Linked DNA regions of Homo sapiens: region 1 is linked to region 2. Evidence: promoter capture Hi-C in human tissues and cell types (Jung and others, 2019). All regions are on one chromosome and are shown on one strand. The core of a region is centred on a gene start or on the middle of the fragment in contact, and the rest is flanking DNA. Distances in the headings are between cores, read along the strand shown.

Region 1 (6,929 bases), core at 1,171-3,670, 470 kb before region 2:
ATTTTCACTGTTGTTGCCCAGGCTGGAGTGCAATGGCGCGGTCTCGGCTCACTGCAACTTCCACCTCCCAGTTTCAAGAGATTCTCCTGCCTCAGCCTTCCGAGTAGCTGGGATTACAGGCGCCCGCCACCATACCCAGCTAATTTTTTATATTTTTAGTAGAAATGGGGTTTCACCATGTTGGCCAGGCTGGTCTTTAATTCCTGACCTTCAGGTAATCCACCTGCCTCGGCTCCCAAAGTGCTGGGATTATAGACGCGAGCCACTGCGGCCAGCCTTTTTTTTTTTTTGAAATAATTATAGACTCACAGGAAATTGCAAAAATAGTACCTAGGGTCCCATGTACAGTTCATCCAGTTTCCTTTAATGGTAATATCTTATGTAAATATAGTACAATATCAGACCAGGCACAGTGGCTGACACCTGTAATCCCAGCACTTTGGGAGGCTGATGCGTGTGGATCACTTGAGGTCAGGAGGAGTTCAAGACCAGCCTAGCCAACATGGTGAAACCCCATCTACTAAAAATACAAAAATTAGCTGGGTGTGGTGGTGTGTGCCTCTAATCCCAGCTACTCAGGAGGCTGAGGCAGGAGAATCGCTTGAACCCGAGAGGCAGAGGTTACAGTAAGCCAAGATCGCACCACTGTACTCCAGCCTTGCTGACAGAGTGAGACTCCATCTCAAAAAAATATAAATAAATACAAATATAAATATAAATACATATTATATCAAACCAGGAAATTGACATTGGCATAAAACTGTTAACTATGGCTTGGGTCATTTTCTTTCTTTCCATCTGACCAATGGCATCTTGATTTAATTTGCCTTTTTATAACCACTATTAAGTTTGAGCTTCTTATTATACATTTTATTGGTAATTTACATTTATGGTTTATGAATCATTTGTTCACGTCCTTTTTTCCATTTTTTTCTAATGAGCTATTTGTTTTCCTAAAGAATATCTTCTTAGGACTATTAATCTTTTGTCTGCCGTATGTTTTGCAGTTAATTATTCTAGCTTCATATATTTTCTGTAGTTTTGTTGCTTTTATTTTTTTCCTGTGTAGAAATTTTTATTTTATACAGTCAATATGTTTCTTTGGTGGTTTTTGGGTTTTTCTCTTTTGTGGAAAGCTTTCTCTGTCTTCTAGGTTATACTGTTTTCTTTTGTTATTTATTTATTTATTTATTTATTTTTTAAGCCATGGTCTCACTCTGTTGCCCAGGCTAGAGTGCAGTGGTGTGATCATGGCTCACTGCAGCCTCAACTTCCTGGGCTCAGGTGATCTTCCCGCCTCAGCCTCCAAAGTAGCTGGTACTACAGGCGTGTGCCACAATGCATGGCTGATTTTGTGTGTGTGTGTGTGTGTGTGTGTGTGTGTGTGTGTGTGTGTGTATTTTTGTATTTTTTGTAGAGACAGGGGTTGCTCAGACTAGACTCAAGAGATCCACCCGCCTCAGCCTCCCAAAGTGCTTGGATTACAGGCATGAGCCACAGTGCCCAGAAGATTATACTGTTTTCTTTTAATCTTTTATATTTTGCCTTTGGCTTTTAATTCATTTGGAATATGTTTTTGTATATACTGTGTGCACATTCCCCCCAGATGTATGAGATATTCTAGCACTACTAAACTGTTTTATTTAGGACTTTTTCAGCTTCTTGTGACTTAAATCTCAACAAAATTCCAAAGGTAGTACTGGCTCAAGGCAAGACTTGATACACTGGTGAGAAGCAGCTGCAACGCTGAGCAGAGGAGGCAGGATCTGGAGTGTGAGCAGTAGCTGGGTGGGCACCATGGCTGGGATCACCACTATTGAGGCAGTGAAGCACAATATCCAGGTTCTGCAGCAGCAGGCAGATGATGCAGAGGAGAGAGCTGAGCACCTCCAGCGAGAAGCTGAAGGAGAAAGGCGCGCCTGGGAACAGGCTGAGGCTGAGGTGGCCTCCTTGAACCATAGGATCCAGCTGGTTGAAGAGGAGCTGGACTGTGCTCAGGAGCACGTGGCCACTGCCCTGCAAAAGCCGGAAGAAGCGGAAAAAGCTACTGATCAGAGTGAGAGAGATATGAAGGTTGTTAAAAACTGGACCTTAAAAGATGGAATTCCAGGAAATCCAACTCAAAGAAGCTAAACACACTGCAGAATAGGCAGATAGGAAGTATGAAGAGGTGGCTCGTAAGTTGGTGGTCATTGAAAGAGACTTGGAACTCACAGAGGAACGAGCTGAGCTGGCAGTGTCCCATTGCCGAGAGATGGATGAGCAGATGAGACTGATGGACCATAACCTGAAGTGTCTGAGTGATGCTGAAGAAAAGTACTCTCAAAAAGAAGACAAACGTGGAAGAGATCAAGATTCTTACTGATAAACTCAAGGAGGTAGAGACCTGTGCTGAGTTTGCTGAGAGATCGGTAGCCAAGCTGGAAAAGACAACTGATGACTTGGAAGATAAACTGAAAATGTACCAAAGAGGGGCACTCTGTACAAAGGATGCTGGACCAGACTCTGCTTGACCTGAATGAGATGTAGAGCACCTCAGTCTCACCCTGCTGCTGCTCCTCCCTCTGACCCTGATTCCATCTGAGGCCAGCCTACCCAAAGCTGACCTTTATAACTGGAAGGCTGCTTTCTCCTTTCGCTGCCCCCACCTCCCCTGTGTCTTTTTCGCTAAACTGTCTCTGCCTCTTCCCAGAGATTCCAGCTGGGCTAGAGGCTGTGCACCTTTGGGAACAACACTTAAGGGAATGTGAACACAATGCATAATGCCTTTAAAAGCATGTTGTGATGTACACATTTTGTAATACCTTTTTTGTTGTTTTATAGCAACCATTTGTAAAACATTCCAAATAATTCCACAGCTCTGAAGCAGCAATCTATTCCTTTTTCACTTTTGGAAGGTGACTTTTCAGCTTAATGCATATTGCCCTTTCCATAGAGAAGAGGAAAAGGTATAGGCCTGCCTTACTGAGAGCCAAACAGAGCCCAGGGAAAGAATCCATTATGGGAAATTTCACTGCTCTGTAAAAAGTACCCCCCAAACCAGAAAGGTGATTCCAGGAGGAGTTAGCCAAACAACAACAAAAACAAAACAAAAATGTGCTTTTCAGGTTTTCAGCTTTAAGATATCTTTGGACAATGTTATTTCTTTTTTTTTTTTCATTAGAAGTGACCAAATTAAAATGGTAAGACCTCTGAAACTAAATTTTTGTCCCAACTCTGCCCCCTCTCAACTGCCTGCAGAATGGATCATGTGCCCCTTATGTTGCAGTGACCACTTAATTGCTATCCTCCCTCCTTGAAAGATTATGTTTTGCCACTGATTTAGCCATGTGAAACTCATCTCATTATCCTTTTCTGGGTTTGAAGCTGCTCTCTCTAAAAGTGCTATCTCATTGTACTTTGTATCAGAGAAATCTTGAATAGCTTATGTACAAAACTTTTAAAGTTTTTTATTATTTTGAAGCTTTGCTTCTTTGGGTTTGTGGCACCCTGGCCACCCTGTCTGGCTGTGACAGCCTATACAGTGTGTGGGCTGGCAGTTTGCTGATCTTTTAAAGTTTCTTTCCCTACCCAATCCCCATTTTCTGGTAAGGTTTCAATGAGGTCTGTTAGGTGTACATCCTGCAGCTTATTGGCTTAAAATGTACACTCCTTTGATGTGGTCTCTTTGGGGCCAACTGGGAGAAAGACAAATCAATAGTGCAACTCTTTTGATACCAAATATTGACACAAGTGTCTTTTTGAAATAAAGAACAGGTCTCTCCAAAAAACAAAACAAAAAAGGCTTGATACAGGCAAAAGTAATACTACTTTAAAAATTTTGGCCAGGCGCAGTGGCTAACACCTGTAATCCGAGCACTCTGGGAGGCTGAGGTGGGCAGATCACCTGAGGTCAGGAGTTCGAGACCAGCCTGGCCAACATGGTGAAACTCCATCTCTACTGAAAATACAAAAATTACCAGGGTGTGGTGGCAGGCATCTGCAATCCCAGCTACATGGGAGGCTGAGCATGAGAATCTCTTGAACCCAGGAGATGAAGGTTGCAGTGAGCCAAGATTGCACCATTGCACTCCAGCCTGGGGGATAGAGTGAGACTCTGTCTCAAAAACAAAAACAAATTTGCTTCCTGACTTTTCTCAGTTCTGCCCTTTTTGGTGTTGGATTTCTCCTTACGATTCATACTGTGTCACTCCTCAGTCTGTCTTGTATGTTGTGCCATTCTAATTCCAGATTTTTCCTTTGTGGTCACACAATGACTGTGAATGTTTTAGGCCTTGCTTCCTAATACCACACAAGGGAAGAGAAAGGATCCCTTTCTGAAGATTCCGTGGAGAACAAGTTTTGGTTGTTTTTTTTCCCCCCCATATACCCAAGTAAATAGCTCCATAGATTTTTGGCCCTAAGTCATGTATCTGTTCTTTGGGGTGGAGAGTGTGTGTGTGTGTGTGTGTGTGTGTGTGTGTGTGTAAAAGCTGATTAATTTAAACCAATTAGGATTTACCCCCGGGCTGGGCATGGGATTCAGTCCCTCTCAACCACATGACTGAAAGTGAGAAAAGTTGTTTCACAGGAAATTTTTGGGTACTGTCTCCAAAGAAGAGGGAACAGAAGCCAGGTAGTCAAACTACAGGGGACTATGGCATGACCTCATGTTTTTCATACTAAACATAAATGATACCTTTTAAATTATTATCTGTTTCTGCATTTTCTGTTTTCTTCCACCAACAGTCTATGAGGGTATTCATTTGGTGATTTTTTTTCTCTCGGAAACATACTACTTCAATAATAGTGGCTAAGAGTACATGTTAATATCTTTTTAAGCAAGTCTCCCATCATTTTTTTTCTGGAAATTTCTTGGCAATTTTTATATATTTATTTGATACAAACTTTGGGATCCTGATTGGAATTACATTATATACATTTTTAACATGGAAATCCAAATCAGATAAACGTAGCTATGGAAATCAACTTGGAAATGCTCAATAGTTTCTTCTGCAAAAGGCTTTTCTTTCCTTTGTTATTATTCACCAATGTTTTGGGGGGATGAAAACCTTCTCTGTATTTTCGACCCTGGACACTTTCACAGTACCAAGAGACAGTGGACTCATGTCCCAGCTCTTCCCAGCAGATAACTCCTTAGATAGACTAAGAATCCAACAGCCTCTTCTAGTAGGCTTATTTTTGGTTATTGAGTAGCATCAACAGAAAACTGAGAGGGAAAAGAGCTGGAAATGTGGGGTTAAACTGCCTTAAACCTCAGGTATTGTGATCAGTTTTTAAAAACCATTTAAGGATGCCACACATCTCCAGAGACTTCAGACCACGGTTTCCATTTAATTGCTTCCATATGAACTATGTGTTTGCTTGCTACCTAATTTTTTTCTTATGTGAAGTATGATATTTTATCTAATGATTTTGTTATTTTCCTTAGATGTAGAAACATTGTCTTCAAGTATTATAGCACTATTTTAAAATATTTGGTTGGTGCAAAATTAACTGTGGTATAATTATTAATTATATTTTATATTTTTCTATAGATTATTATATACCTGAAATTCTAGTAAAGATGATAAATATATATTAGAATTAATAAACATTTAACCAAGTTGCTACATATAAATATTCAGAAGCCTACTTAATAACTTTTTAAGTGATCTCATGATAGGTTTGAATACAAGAGACAATGGCAATGTGTTAGTTTCACAATTAAGATTCAGTCTGGTGCAGCAGTATACAATGGAATTATTACTGTTTATTTGAATCTGTGTGTGTTTGTGTTCTTTTTTCTCATTTTACCTCTGGACATTTGTAAAGCTTGTGCTAAATAGAATGTTTACAAAATATGTTTGTAATACTTCTGTATTTTTCTTGACTTAAATGTTAGATACTGGATCAGCATTAAGGAATTACTATTTTGTAGATACATGGAAATGATTTTTACATCCATTTTCTCCATGGCAGCCCCTTTCTATATTGGTAGACTTCTTATAGTTTATAAGATATGTTTAAGTCAAAGGAGTATTGACTAATTAATTTTATTTTGAGTGTTACATAGGATATTCAGAGACAGAAATTAATTGTTGTGTTCCTTATCACATCTCTTCTTTGTTTTGCAGTGGGACTTCTCCTCTTGCATGCCTGAATGCAATGCTTCACACAAACTCCAGAGGTGAAGAGGGCATCTTCTATAAGGTTCCAGGTAGAATGGGAGTATATACTTTGAAGGTAAATATTTTGTTGGGGAGTCATTTAGAAAGAAAAAACAGGAAGTGACCACATATAAATATTTGACTCGTAGGGACAGAATTCTGTTCTTGAAGAGCTTATTTTCAGGAAGAGGTAATATTTTGAAACCTCTACCCAATACATTTTTTAAAAACTAATCTATAACTAACTATAGGTAGATCAGAGAAGTAACTTTATTTTTTATTCTTGATGATAATCTTATCTAGAAAGAACGAAATTAAAATGACTTATGGCCAGGCGTGGTGGCTCACGCCTGTAATCCCAACATTTTAGGAGGCCGAGGTGGGCAAATTGCCTGAGCTCAGGAGTTTGCGACCAGCCTGGGCAACACAGTGAAACCCCACCTCTACTAAAATGCAAAAAATTAGCCAGGGCGTAGCGGTGTGTGCCTGTAGTCCCAGCCACTCAGGAGGCTAAGGCAAGAGAATTGCTTGAACCCGGGAGGCGGAGGTTGCAGTGAGCCAAAATCACGCCACCGCACTCCAGCCTGGGCGACAGAGTGAGACTTTGTCTCAAAAAATAAAATAAAATAAAATAAAATAAAAAATAAATAAAATGACTTCTAGTGTTTTAAGGAGCCCCACAACATTTGTATAATAATTGTTTCTTTGGAGCATTCTGCTTAGATGCTTTACATTACATTCTCATTTCATTCTCTCTCACAATTCACAGTTGGGGTGAAT
Region 2 (6,583 bases), core at 1,240-3,739:
AGTGTGGTGTGGGCTGGGCACGATGGCTCATGCCTGTCATCCCAACACCTTGGGAGCCTGAGATAGGAGCATCACCTGAGCCCAGGAGTTCAAGACCAGCCTGATCAACATAGAGAGGCCCCTATCTCTACAAATAATAATAATAAATTAGCCAGGCATGGTGGTGTGCATCTATAGTCCCAGATACTCAGAAGGCTGAGGCAGGAGGATTGGTTGAGCCCAGAATGTCGAGGCTACAGTGAGCCATGATCACTCCACTGCACTCCAGTCTGGGCAACAGAGCGAGACTGTGTCTCAATAAAAGAAAAAAAAAAAAGATGTGATGTGGGGTGATTTCAGAGCCGGATGAACCTGGCTTTGAATCCTGACTCTGCCACTTCCCAACTGTATGGCTTTGACTAAGACTGAGCCTCAGTTTCTTCATCTGTAGCGTGAGGAGAGTACAAGCCATATCACAGGGCTAGTGAAGACTAGAGAAAATACCATGTCTGGTGCCTGGCACATAGTAGACACTCAGTAAACAGTCGCTGCTGTTTGGGGCCGTGTTATATGTAAGCCCTTGATGAAGGCAGAGGTATCTCAGTCATCCTTCTATAAACGGTCTTCTCCTTTGCCAAGCTGGGTGCGCCATTTAGAGTGTTCACGGATGCCCCTCCTGATGTAGAAAGCGAACAGCCCAGGAGGGTCACATGTTAATTCCACCAAGGTTTACTGAGAATCTCCTAGCACCAAGTGCTGGGCTACAGGGATGACAGACGCGGCCCCTGTCCTCACAGAGCACTGGGAGTCTCTGGGCCGGTGGGGACCATGGACAGCAGGGCCTATCATCAGTAGGGCGGGGTGGCCACTTGAGTGAGGGTGACACTGAAAACGGCCAGAACTATGGCCTAGAAGCTGGTCTCAGATATCGAGGCTCAGGGTGGGGGTTGGGGAGACGGAGGGACCTGGAAGCATTGGAGAACCTCCCGAAGGAAAACCTTCCCGTCTGTATGAAAGGTCAGCTCCCGGTCCCAGAGAACTTGGCAACTCGGTTCTGTGACGCTAAAAGGGTGGCGTTGGGGGGGCGGGTGCTGGGCTGCATGGGGAGAAGGGAAAAGTAGGATCCGCTTCACTGTGAAGTGAGTCCCACCACCAACTCCAGCAATCCCTGCCCACAAGTAGGATGGCGGGTCCCTGGGAAGGGAGCACGCCATGTCCTGTGCCAGTCAGGGAGCTCAGGGCACTGTGATATAGCTGAAGTGCTGAGTAGAATTCGGGGTGCAGAGCTGCGGGTGGCTGGTGGGGTGCTGGGGCGCGCAAGGAGGCTGGAGGCGGGGGTGGGGGGGTGCCCAGCCCCAAGTCCTACAGCGGCTGCTGGAGGAGTGAGATGAGCACATAGTGAGTGGCTGTGCTGGTGGAATTAGACAGAGGTGCCCCAAGTCAGGAACCTAGAGCCCTGAGCGCTCCATGGGGAAGGAGAACAGCCCCCACGGTGAAGGGGTGAGGGCGGTGTGTAGGCACACACAGAATCTTCCAGCTGGAAGAGACCTTCAATGTCATTTCATTCAACCTCCCACCTCATGAAATCTTTCAGTCTTCCAGTGCCCAACTGAGGACACCCAACTCTACTTGGACACCTCAAGGTACGGGGAACTCACTCCCTTCAAGGCAGCTCATCTCAGAGAGGCTTTGGAGCCTGCGGGACGGCCAGGAGGAGCCTGGCGCTCCGACCTTGGCCCTGTAGAGCAGAGTGGCCTCTACTCCGCGGCGGCACCTGGCTGGGGGTTGCGGCGCGGTTGGGCCAGCGCTGCTGTCCCCAGCCCCAGTGCTGAGGCAGGCAGAGCGCAGTGGGCTCTGGCGGAGGTCGGGAGAACTGCAGGGCGAAGGCCGCCGGGGGCTCCGCGGGCTGCGGGGGGAGGCACTTGACACCGGCCCGGGGAGAGGAGGGGCCGCTGTCCCTGCGGCCAGTGCTGGATGCGGGGACCCAGCGCAGAAGCAGCGCCAGGTAGCGGGGCGCCCAGCGTGGGGAGGGCTGCGGCGAGGCCCGGAGCTCGGCTACGACTCGAGGGGCTCTGAGTGGCCGGGAGCGCGGCCGAGGCGGGGCGCCCGGGGCCCGGCCCCCGGTCTGGGCGGTGCGGGGTCCAGACCTCCGCCAAGCGGCGTGCGGGGACCCCGGCGGGGCCGCAGAGGCCGGGAAGTCGCGCCGAGGGCGCTAGGACCGGCCGCGCGCCCAGGCCGCTCCCGCCGCGGCGCCCCGGGGCCCCCCAGTCGGCGCTGCCTCCCGGGCCGGCTCCGCAGCGCCGGGGCCGGGGCCAGCGCGGCCGCGGGGGGCGAGCGGCGGGCGGAGGCCTGGGCCCGCGGGCGGCCGGAGGGAGGGAAGGAGGAAGGCGGAGAGAAGGGGTGGGAGGGGGGGACCCGGCGGAGGAGGCGGAGAGAGGGAGCGCGACAGCGAGCGGAGGGAGGGAGCGAGCGAGCGAGGCAGGCAGGCGGGCCGGGAGGGAGGGAGGGCGCGCGGGCGGCGGCGGCGGCGAGAGCAGAGGACGAGCCGGGACGCGGCGCCGCGGCACCAGGGCGCGCAGCCGGGCCGGCCCGACCCCACCGGCCATACGGTAATGAGCGCCGCTGCTGGCGGCCCGGAAGGCCGGCCCGGAGGCGGCGGGGAGCCGGGGAGCCGGGCGGGGGGCGCCGCGGCTGGCAGTGCCCGGCTCGGGGCACGCTCCCGGACCCCTGCAACTCGGCGCCGGGCGCCCGTGGGGCCGGGACTGCAGGCGGGGACGGCGGGCCGGGCTGGCCGGGGCGGCGCGGGGGATTTGAGGGTTTGTTTATGTCCCCGCGGGCTCGGCAGGCGCCCCCTCCCGTCCCGCCCGCTCCCGGCGCGGACCCCCCTCCCCGCCCCCGCCCGGCTCCGGGCTCAAGTTCAAGTCTATACAATGCCGCGGGGGGCCCCTCCACCGCCGGCCTGCGCCGCGGTGCCCGGCTCGCCGCTGCCGCAGGGGCCCCGGCCGGGCCGCCCCCGCCTTCCGGGCTCTGCCCCAGCCCCGCGGCCCCGCCTGGAGCCCGCGGCCAGGGCGCCGGAGGGCGCGGACCCCGACCCAGAAGGATCGGCCCCCGCGGCGGCCCGGGGGAGCGGGGGAGGGGGCGGGGGCCGGGCCCCGCGCAGGCTCCGCGGCGGCGGCAGAAAATGGCAGCCTGGCACGACCCGGCCCCCCGCCCCTCCCCCCGGCGCCCGGCCCTCCTCGGCCCCGCGGGGCGGGGGACCCGGGAGGCCCCCGGGGGCGGGCCGAGGGGTGATGGCGGGGCCGGGCCGGGGAGCGCCGCGCCGCGATCCTCCTCCGGCCACCTGTGGCTGGGGGTGCGGGGCGCCGGCGGGGCCGGGAGGGGCGGCGGGGCCGGGGAGAGCGCCCGCCTTGGGGGCACACCTTCCCCCGGAGTGCCGGCGGCACGGAGAGGGGTGGTCGTGCCCGGCTCCTCCCTGTCCCCACCGCGGGCCGTGGGTGCCCGGGCGGCCGCGGTGGCGGCGCCGCAATGTGGGGGCGGGGCGGGGGCGGGCGAGGATCCCGGGCCCGGGCCCGGGCCGCGGGGGCCGGAAAACGCGGGGGTGGAAGTAGCGGGGCCGGGACCGGGAGCGGCGCAGGGGGGGTACGCCCGGGGTCGCCCCTCCAGCACCCCCGCGCACACTCCCACGCACGCGGACACACTCACGCACACGCACCCCGCCGGGCCGGTGCAGACGTGTCCTTGAAAGCTTCGCATCTGCACAGTGAAGGACGAGGCCTCGCCGCGGCTGCGGAGCGGGGTCTTCGGCCCCACGTCCCCGCACCCCGGGAGACCTCGAGCTTCGGAGCCGCAGGCGGCGGCTGTCCGTGTCCCGCCCTCACCCCAGTTCCCCTCCCCCAGGCCGCCCTGCCTTCCCTCCCCTTCGGCGCGGACCGGGCTGGCGCGGGTCCAGGGCCCGCCCCTGGCCTCCCCCAGCCCCTCATCGCTGGGGCCCGCGGCCCTGGGGCTGCCAAACTGCTTTTCGCTTTCCTGAAGCCTCCCTTCTTGGGGGCACCCTCTCCCACCCCAGCGCCCCTCTGCCATTTCTCCCCCTCTCCTCATCCCCTCCGTCCTGGCACCCTCTCTCCGCTGCACGGCCAGTTGAGGAGGTGTTGGCGCCCTGGGCGGGGAGCAGTGCCCTCTGGTTCCCAGGGGCTGCCTCCCCCGGCTCCTGAGGGGAGCCCCCTGCGGCTGCACCTTGACCCAACATGGCGTCTGGCACCCAGCAGGGCAGCTCTGGCCTGCGGCAGGCGGGAGGGTGGGCAGGGCCGAGCCCCAGGGCCGCGCAGCTACCCCCCCTCCAAACCAGCGGGGACAGAAGCCTTGGGGAGAAGCGCTGTCCGCCCTGTGACCCAACTTGCCCCTCACTGCCGTGCCCAGAGACTGCCATCAGCATCCCTGAGGGCCTGCTCAGTCTTCATGTTTCACCCTAGGCTGCCAGCGGCTGAACCCGCCTCCTGGGCGGGCGGCTACGAAGGGATCCTGGGATCAGGTGCTGCTCCAGTGTCGCCTCCTCCCTCGCGGGCAGATGTGACAGCTGCAGCCAGGGGAGCTATTCGCCTTGCTATTGCCTGGGTGTTAGGACTGGCCTGTGGGATTTGGGGGGCCAGGCATCCCGGGGACCCTCTTTGGTTGGCTAGCAGGGGCCATCTCCAGGTAGTTTTCTGAGCTGCCTGCCTTTGGAGAGTTGGGTTGTAGGGAGTTCCTGCTGGGTTTCTGGGGCAAAATGGTCCCCCTCTGCCTCCAGGTTCTACCGAGGCCCTGCTTGGGCTGTGACAGGTGGCTCTGTCAAGGTGGGAGTCTGTGTGTGCACATGTGCTGGCTCCAGGCGAGGGACCAGGCTGGCCTGTGCAGCAGCTCTGGCACCTGCCTGCCTCCCTGGTGGGTCCCCCTCCTCTGTGCAGCTCCTCCCCAGATAAGCAGCTGCGGATTCAGGCCGACCAAACTTCCCTCGTTACCCCACCCAGGCACCAGTGCCTTCCATAGGAGACTGACCCTAAGAAAGGTGAATTCCTTCTAGACTCAAGGAGTGGACTGGTCCACAGGGCTGCCCTCTGAGTCCTTCCTGGAGAAGCCTAGGAAAGGACGCCAGCAGCCATCTGTCAGGGTGTCTGCGGACAGGATTCCTCTGTGGGGTGGGGGTTGGACTAGAGCCGGAAGGTCCATTCCAGCTTTGACATTCTATGGCTCTGATTCTAGTGGTGGAATTTCAGGCCTAGCAATGGGGACAGGGTGGTCTGTTTTTCGGCACATGGCAGTAATAGGGGAAGGCTTCCAAGGAGAAGGAGATATGAGAGAGATCAGGGCGCCCAGCGAGTTGGGCCTTGGGAAGGAGAGGCAGTGTGAGGAGGGTCCCTGCAAGAGACGGGTTGGTCACGTCCGACTCTGCAGAGGGTGTAAAAAGTACAGCCTCCTTTAAGCCTCGGCACGTGTGTATCCTGTAGGTTTGTGTATAAATCCCTGTGTGTGGATAATTTCTGAGGTTTCCTTTTCAAGTCCAATTCACAGTAAGCTCCTCAGTCCCTTATGGATGTTTTACTATCGCTTTCACACCCACCTCTGCCAGTGGTTCTCAAAAAGCTAGGAAGACAGGACAAACGGTAAAATCCTTGTCCAGGGTCACCGGCAGGAAGAAGTGGAGCCAGGCCTGCACTCGGGGGAAGATGCCCCATGCTATACCTCTTACCTGGGCTGCTGCATGTGTCTGTCCCCGCTCTCAGTTTGTGATCTCCAGGAAACAGGGGCCTTGCCTCCCTGGGTCCCCATTGGACAAGCGGTGAGGCCTCCGAGGGTGTCTGCTGAGCGAGGGGAGCGCACTGCCCTCCAGTCCTCTCCCCGAGGCAGCGAGGCAGGTTAGTGCTGGGCTCCCTTCCCCCTGCTGCTGTGCGCCGCTGCCCAGCGGCCACTGCCTACTTACAGGCCAGCTCCTCAGGGTCACACCTCCCTGAAAGACCCAAGTTCTTTCCCAGCAAGAGCCAGACTCCCCCAAGGCTTCTCTTTTTGGGATCCAGGTAGAAAGAGGACTCTAATGGGTGAGTTAAAACAGACCACCCTCTCCCCATCTTTGGGCCCGAAATGTCAGCATTAGAACCCAAACCTTAGAATTGCAGTCTGAAAGAGGAGTTTAAGCTCTGAGAGCTCTTAGTGCTGGGTACGGGACTGTTTGTGGGAGGTGGTGCCCAGTTCTTCCCAGGGTTGTCCATGCTACCCAGAGCCTGAGGCCTGGAGGGCCATTCACGTGCCAGTCACATGCCTCTCCCAGGGTACTTCCTGCTGCCTCCAACTTGCTGGCCTGGGGTCCTGGACTTGGTGCTCGTATCCTCCCCACCCCGTGCCCCACTGGGAGTTGAGTGTGTCTCTGGCCTCCAGCAGGTAGGGCCAGAGCATCTACCCCAATGCCATTCCCCATGCTGCGGCCCTCGGGGAATAGCTTCTACTTTTGTTTGAATATTAGTATGTGAGCAGAGAGCCCGTCAGAAGCCCACCTGGCCTGAGGCTGGGTTTCTGCAGGGACTTTGCTGTTCCTGAGCAGGGCTTTAATGGTCTACTAAAGGTGCCAGATCCCTTT

Evidence for each region. The method cuts DNA at HindIII sites, captures the fragments that hold promoters and counts their contacts. A contact is called where the count stands out against the background at its distance.
Region 1: a contact is called between a fragment that was not itself captured here and the fragment with the promoter of DNMT3A in region 2, in 1 of the 25 tissues and cell types used here (spleen).

The regions. Positions count from the first base shown.
Region 1 is chr2:25,805,525-25,812,453 of GRCh38, reverse strand. ASXL2 (ASXL transcriptional regulator 2) reads left to right here. Exons shown (of 13, transcript NM_018263.6): 4 at 6,117-6,225. It also overlaps the pseudogene TPM3P7. Among named protein-coding and RNA genes, the nearest start is that of ASXL2, 69 kb to the left of the region's middle. The HindIII fragment of the contact is 4,439 bases long and covers 201-4,639 here.
Region 2 is chr2:25,337,831-25,344,413 of GRCh38, reverse strand. DNMT3A (DNA methyltransferase 3 alpha) reads left to right here and starts at 2,489. Exons shown (of 23, transcript NM_022552.5): 1 at 2,489-2,588. RefSeq lists an enhancer at 1,577-1,696 and silencers at 1,817-2,296, 2,357-2,566, 2,857-3,026, 3,127-3,366, 3,647-3,766. The HindIII fragment of the contact is 18,341 bases long and covers 1-6,583 here.